Linked DNA regions of Homo sapiens: region 2 is linked to region 1. The links are contacts of gene promoters, found by promoter capture Hi-C in human tissues and cell types (Jung and others, 2019). All regions are on one chromosome and are shown on one strand. Each heading gives the region's core, a stretch centred on a gene start or on the middle of the fragment in contact. The rest is flanking DNA. Distances are from core to core; before and after follow the strand shown.

Evidence for each region. The method cuts DNA at HindIII sites, captures the fragments that hold promoters and counts their contacts. A contact is called where the count stands out against the background at its distance.
Region 2: a fragment that was not itself captured here is called in contact with the fragment with the promoter of PODXL in region 1 in 1 of the 25 tissues and cell types used here (dorsolateral prefrontal cortex).

The regions. Positions count from the first base shown.
Region 1 is chr7:131,554,613-131,557,944 of GRCh38, forward strand. It overlaps PODXL (podocalyxin like), which reads right to left and starts at 2,016. Exons shown (of 9, transcript NM_001018111.3): 1 at 1,648-2,016. The coding sequence starts at 1,747. RefSeq lists silencers at 1,637-2,146, 2,227-2,286, 2,317-2,436 and an enhancer at 2,404-2,951. The HindIII fragment of the contact is 6,040 bases long and covers 1-3,332 here.
Region 2 is chr7:130,977,805-130,980,657 of GRCh38, forward strand. LINC-PINT (long intergenic non-protein coding RNA, p53 induced transcript) reads right to left here. Exons shown (of 8, transcript NR_170176.1): 5 at 704-724. Among named protein-coding and RNA genes, the nearest start is that of LINC00513, 66 kb to the left of the region's middle. The HindIII fragment of the contact is 3,455 bases long and covers 1-2,853 here.

The sequences.
Region 1 (3,332 bases), core at 766-3,265:
TTTGCCCACTGGTGACTTATGAACATTTCCTTTTAGGGCAGACAGGGAGGGTCTTGTCCCACAGTGCCTCCCACTCCTCAAAGGAAGGGTGGCTCAGCTTCCTTAAGCTCAGAAGCACTAGGGACTAACCCCTCTTTCCTGACACAGCCCAACGCCCTTCTGGGTGGTTCTAAGAGGCTTCCCAACAAAAGGTTCGTATGAAGGCCCACCCTGAAGTCCAGCTGTCCCCAGAGTAGGGCTAAGGAGCCACCATACTCTCGTGTCATCTCAACCCTGCATGTCGTGTGGCTCTTCAGTGATTGCCACTCTGAAAGCTGTTCTGACTGTTCCTCACACTGCAGCCCCTCTTCCAGGGACACACATTCTTCCCCCCGCCGGGACCTTCCCTTTCTAGTCAGGCTGGTGGAGTCTCCCGCCGGCCACAGGAGGATGCCCACGCCTGCCTGCTCCCTGAGTGCCAGCGCCTGCCCACTACCAAAGGTTTCCTGCGGTGCAGAGGAGAGACTGTACTGCCCTTCCATCTCCCCTGGCCCCTTAGAGTCCAGTCCCAAACTGCCGGCACCTGCTCACAGCAGAATCCCTACCCTGTCTGTGCTGTCCCCGCAGTCCTCCTGGCCCTAGGGTGATCACACCACCTCAGCTCTTCCTGCAGACATGTGCTCAGGTGGGCAAAAGAGAATGAGAAATGCACCTCTCCCGTGGGGCTGAGCTGACTCTGGCTGTTCCCTAGGGGCTTAAGAACACCTGTTCTGGTTGAGTTTGCAGCCATCGCCTGTCCCCCAAAAGGGAAAGAGTAACATTTCACCTTGAAAAGAAACAGGGAGGGGATGTTTCTGAGGTGCAGGTGTTTCATGAGAGACAGGTACATTTTCTAAGGTGTGTCTAAAATGCAGCCCAATCCTATTCTACGAGAGAGAAGTTCCCGTTTGAACAAGTTCCCGTTTGAACAAGAGGATTCGAGGGGGGTCTCACCATCGTAGCCACGCACTAAGAAGCGATTGTTTTAGGGACACGGAGGTAGGACCCCCACTCAGCCAGGTGACTCTGGGACTGTGGAAGGTCCACTTACGACTCTGTACCTGCCCCAGCACGGGCTCAAGGAGTTGAGCCTGCACACATTACTTAGAAAAAACCTCTGCAAACGGGTAAGTACATCGCCCGCGTGGGCCGTGGCTGGAGGCTTGTCACCTGCTTCAGGGACTTCCTCGGGAGCCTCTCGCCTGCCTCTTTGCCTGGAATTAACGAATACACACTACAGCCCCTCATTCCCTCCAACACGAAGGAAAGGTGTAATCAGATCCCGAGAGTCCCGCAGAAGCGTGGAGCCTCGCGGTGCGGTCTCCCTTTTCTTTCCCATGCAAACCCACTTAGCACCGGCGCGCCCCTGTTTGCCCGGGCAGAATCCACCGCCCACTCCTCCCGAGTGGAGAGTGGAGACGAATCTACGCCCAGGCCCTGCACCTGCCGCGCTGCGGAGTTTGGAGGGGGCGTGGATGGTGCAAGGTCAGGGCTCCGTGTGTGACCCCGGCGGTGATAGGGCTGCTCGGGGTCGGACCACGCGGCGCGCCGGGCTTCCCTGCAGCTCGGCCGGGCAGGGGGCACATGGGCACGGTGGGAGTCCCGGCGGAACCCAGGCCGGCCACTCACCATTCTGGGAGGGCGACGGCGACGGCGACGGCGACGACGGCAGCAGCGGCGGCGTTGACAACAGTAGCAGCAGCGCCGAGAGCGCCAGCGCGCAGCGCATCGTGTCGTCGCCTCTGGGCCGGGAGCAGGTGGCTGCGGTGCCGGCGGAGGATCCGCGCGTCCGGGCGGTAGGAGCGTGGGCGCCGCCCGGGGAGGCCTGTGGGTGGCTCCGGAGGCCAGGCTGTGGCCCGGGGCTCCCGAGTCGCGCTGCGGCGGCTCTTCCTCCCTGCCGCTGCAGCAGAGCCGGGCTGGGGCGCAGAGCCAGTGGCAGAGGAGCGGCGGCGGCGGCGGCTGCGTCCTGGGCGGCGTCTGCGCGGCTGCGGCCCCACTGGCGGCTGCGGCTACTCCTGGCCCGTCCCGTCAGCGCCGGCCCCCGCCCCCGCCCCCGCCCCTCCCCCTCCCCCAGGAGCCCGCCAGCGGCGGCGGCCGGGCCGGGCGGGGCCGGGGCCGGGGCTGGGCGGGCGCTGGGCCGTGAACAATGAGCAGAGGAGGAAACTCCGCCCTGGAGCGCGACGGGCGGGAGGGCCGGCGGCCTCCGCGCCTTGGGGGGCTGTGTGTGCGCGGGGGCCAGGGCGGGGGGCTCCTGCGGTGCAGCCGGGCCCCGTCCACAGGTGTCCCGAACAGGTGTGTCCCCCCGAGTGCTTCTAAGTGGGCCCGGCGGGATCCCCCAGCACACCGCCGGGGCCCTCGCACTACGAGCAAATCCGGAGCGGGCGGACCCCCAGCCTTGCGTGGTAACTGATAACCATTCACGGCCTCCCGGGCTGCTGCGCGTTCTGCAGCGACCCCGGAGAAGCTCATCTCCCACCTGCCAAGTGCAATTCACCTGCCTGTGGGGCCCCCATCCCGCACGGCTTCTGAGCGGGGTCTCTCTGCAGCTAGGTGTGCAGCGGGCAAGCTGGACTAATTCACTCCTTCACCTCTCCAAGGGTAGGTTCCTTACCTGTGAAATGGAGATGATGGTTAAAAAACAACAGCAACAACAATTTCAGGGATGAATGTGTGCCAGGCTTTACATATATTAATTCTTTTACTCTTCATGACAACCATATTTTTAGCCTCATTTTGCAGACAGGGCAATTGAGTCAAAAAGAGGTTAAGAAACTTCCTGAGGCCACATAACGGGTAAGTGGCAAACCTGCCTCTGAGAGAAGTTTGGAGAAATACCGTGCACCGTGCCTGGAATATAGTAATTGCTCTGCAAGGAGTGGTTATTACTCTTATTCCTGCTATATAAAGAACAGCTATAAAGATTAGGGCTTTTGGGTCAAAACAGGCTGGGGCTCAAAACCTAACTGTGCCAATCTATTAATTGTAAAACCCTAGGCAAGCTATTCTCAGTACCTCATTTCTTTTTATCTGTAAAATAGGGATAATAACACCTACCTCAGGGGGTTGTTGGGAAACTTAAATGTGATCTTACAAGATAATACTTAGCCTAGGGCCAGGAACACAAAAGTCTCAATGAATGAAGTAGTTCGCCCTCCAAGTGAGGATCAGAGATATTTGCACACTGGGGGTGGGAGTGGGTGTTGGAGAATTCCGTAAACTGAGTTTATCCGGTGAAAGAACAAAGAAGTTCCTTTCCCCTCCCCCGCTCCCCTCCTTTTTTCCACCCCCAAAGCTGCCTGGGAGACGCAGACCCC
Region 2 (2,853 bases), core at 91-2,590, 580 kb before region 1:
TTCAAATGGGAATACTACTTTTTTTTTTTTTTTTTTGAGACACTCTGCCGCCCAGGCTGGAGTGCAGTGGTGCAGTCTCAGCTCATTGCAACCTCTGCCTCCTAGGTTCATGCGATTCTCCTGCCTCAGTCTCCTGAGCTGGGATTACAGGCGCAGGCCAGTATACCTGGCTAATTTTTGTATTTTTAGTAAAGACAGGGTGTCACCATGTTGGCCAGGCTGATCTTGAACTCCTGACCTCAGGTGATCCACCCGCCTCAGCCTCCCAAAGTGGTGGGATTACAGTTTGAGCCACCACACCTGGCCCTACTTTGGTTTTTTTAAAATTACACTATTCTATCGCTGAGGACTAAACAAGGCGCTGTAAATTGCAAGTGTTTTCTTAAAACCTTTTAGCATAAAAAATATTAATGTTTCAAACTTAGAAAAACCTGAGTTATTTTTAATACTACTATAACCTAGTTGTATTTTCCGGGTAATGCCATCCCTGCTAATCAACCACCTAAAACCAAAAGCTTTTTAAAGCTGTAAATATTGCTGACATATTATTTGCAGCCAATTAGCACAATATTCTAATGAGATTATCATCATTGATTCCCAACAGGGGTAGGTAATGGTGTTCATTCATACACTAATATAATTTTGTCTTTCTTACAGCATGCACATTCTATAAAACTGGAATGATAGTACCTGTAGTACTTACCCTTATGTTTTTCAGCCAACGCTTGGCATATGGAAAATAATCGCAAAATGTTATTAACATGATTGTTTTCTTTGCCATGTTAAGTTACACCACAAAAACATAAAATAGATCAACATTCCTTAACTATAAGAAACACAACTAAAAGAATTTACTGAGTGTGCTGTCTTTTCTTTGCATGTGGCAACAATAGTAGCTACTCTGCATGTATTGGTACTTATTTCACAGCAACACAGGAACACTTTGACTTTGACATTGTTAAGCACTGAAGTTCAAAACTAGCAACCATACACACTTACTATTTAACATCTTGTGTTTTTTCCTTTATTCATAGGTTTAAAAGAAGTGCTTAGCTACCTGATGGTGACCTCTTACACTTTTCATGATCGACCTGGTTGTCTTGAAAAAAGAAATAATAGTTTCTATTTTCGCTTCCATTTCCCTCTCAGAAAATGAATAAAGAAAAATGGCCAGAAAAAAATGGGAAAAATATAAAATATTTTTTTAAATACATGTTTTTCTTCTTGTTTGGGGTTACTCAACTCAAAAACAGTATTTTATGTCCCCAAATACTGTTTAAATTTCTACCATAATTTATCCCCTTGAATCATCAATAGTCTTTTTCTCAAGCCTACCATTCTCTGAAGCCACTACAATCTTGTCCTGTGACACTTAGCTTTAGCTTTTGAAATGGAACAGAGAAGAGACAAAAGCTTATGAATTGAAGCCACAGCAGGGGCAAGGATTTAGCCTCCTTTTCTGTACATTCTCAAAGCTGTTGGCTGTAGGGACTAAAATACACATTCTGGGGCTTTTCTACTGGATTCCAGTCATGTACCATGTACTAGGAGTAAATAAGGACAACAGGAAATCAGGAAACAGGCTGGAATTCACTCTTAGAATTTCTTCCAAATGACAACCACCAAAATCTAGTTAAAGACTCATTTTATGATTTCTTAACTTTTTTTAAATTGGGGATTCCAATGAAGTGGCTTTGAAGTATTTATCTGAAATCTCTTTAATACCACTTCCCAAGCACCGGACTCTGCCTATGCTGAGATAATACTTTGACTTGATCAACCAAGAACGAAATGGGGGGAAAAATACCCATTGCTAACCCAAGTTTTAGTGTAGCTTATAAAATTACTTGGAAGAAATAATCAGAGAGGCAAGAGAACAAGTAGTAGAGTGTTTCAAAAGGCGAAAGGAAAGAGAATGAACTCAGTTCAATGGCAAATGCAAGATCAACGTTGGAGCAGTTTCAGGACACTGGTGATGTTGAGCTACATAGCACGTTGCTACCTTGGGAAAGGCAGAAAGAGTACGTCTTTGTGGCTCTTATACAGCAGCTGCTTATTTAGTTTTTCCGAGACAGGATTTTTAATTAGCTGTCTATGGTTATTCTCTTTTTTGTTTTTCCTCAATTTATAGAGGGCTCTAGATCACCTACTAGTCTAACCCCTTGGTCATTTTCCTAGGACTGGCTTTCAGCTGCTTCGAAATGATGTGACTGCCAGGAAAGTACTACTGCATCGCCTCGGGCCTTTCTAGACCCTTTTCTAGGAAGAGATGATGCACTAATTGTTTCCTAACCCAAATGCTATAAATGCACAAGACCATAGAATACTGGACTGGTTGGCCAGGTGTAGTGGTTCACGCCTGTAATCTTAGCACTTTGGAAGCTGAGGTGGGCGGATCACGAGGTCAGGAGTTCGAGACCAGCCTGGCCAAGATGGTGAAACCCCGTCTCTACTAAAAATACAAAAAATTAACTGGGTGTGGTGGCGGGCACCTGTAATGCCAGCTACTCGGGAGGCTGAGGCAGGAGAATTGCTTGAACCCGGGAAGTGAAGATTGCAGTGAGCCAAGATTGCACCATTGCACTCCAGCCCAGGTGACAGTGCGAGACTCCATCTCAAAAAAAAAAAAAAAAAATACTGGACTGGTTTAATTATCCTTCAAAGTAAATGGTGAGTCAAAGAAGAATGAATGTATTTGAGGAACAGATGTCCAAAGCAGGATTCATGTCCTCTAATGTAAGGCTAAGAAGAAAACATCAGAAAATTTTTATTATTGTGTGGGTTCTATTTATCTAATGAAAAAAACACATTATGGATCATTAAAAATAATCTTAGAAAATTAAAAAAGAAATC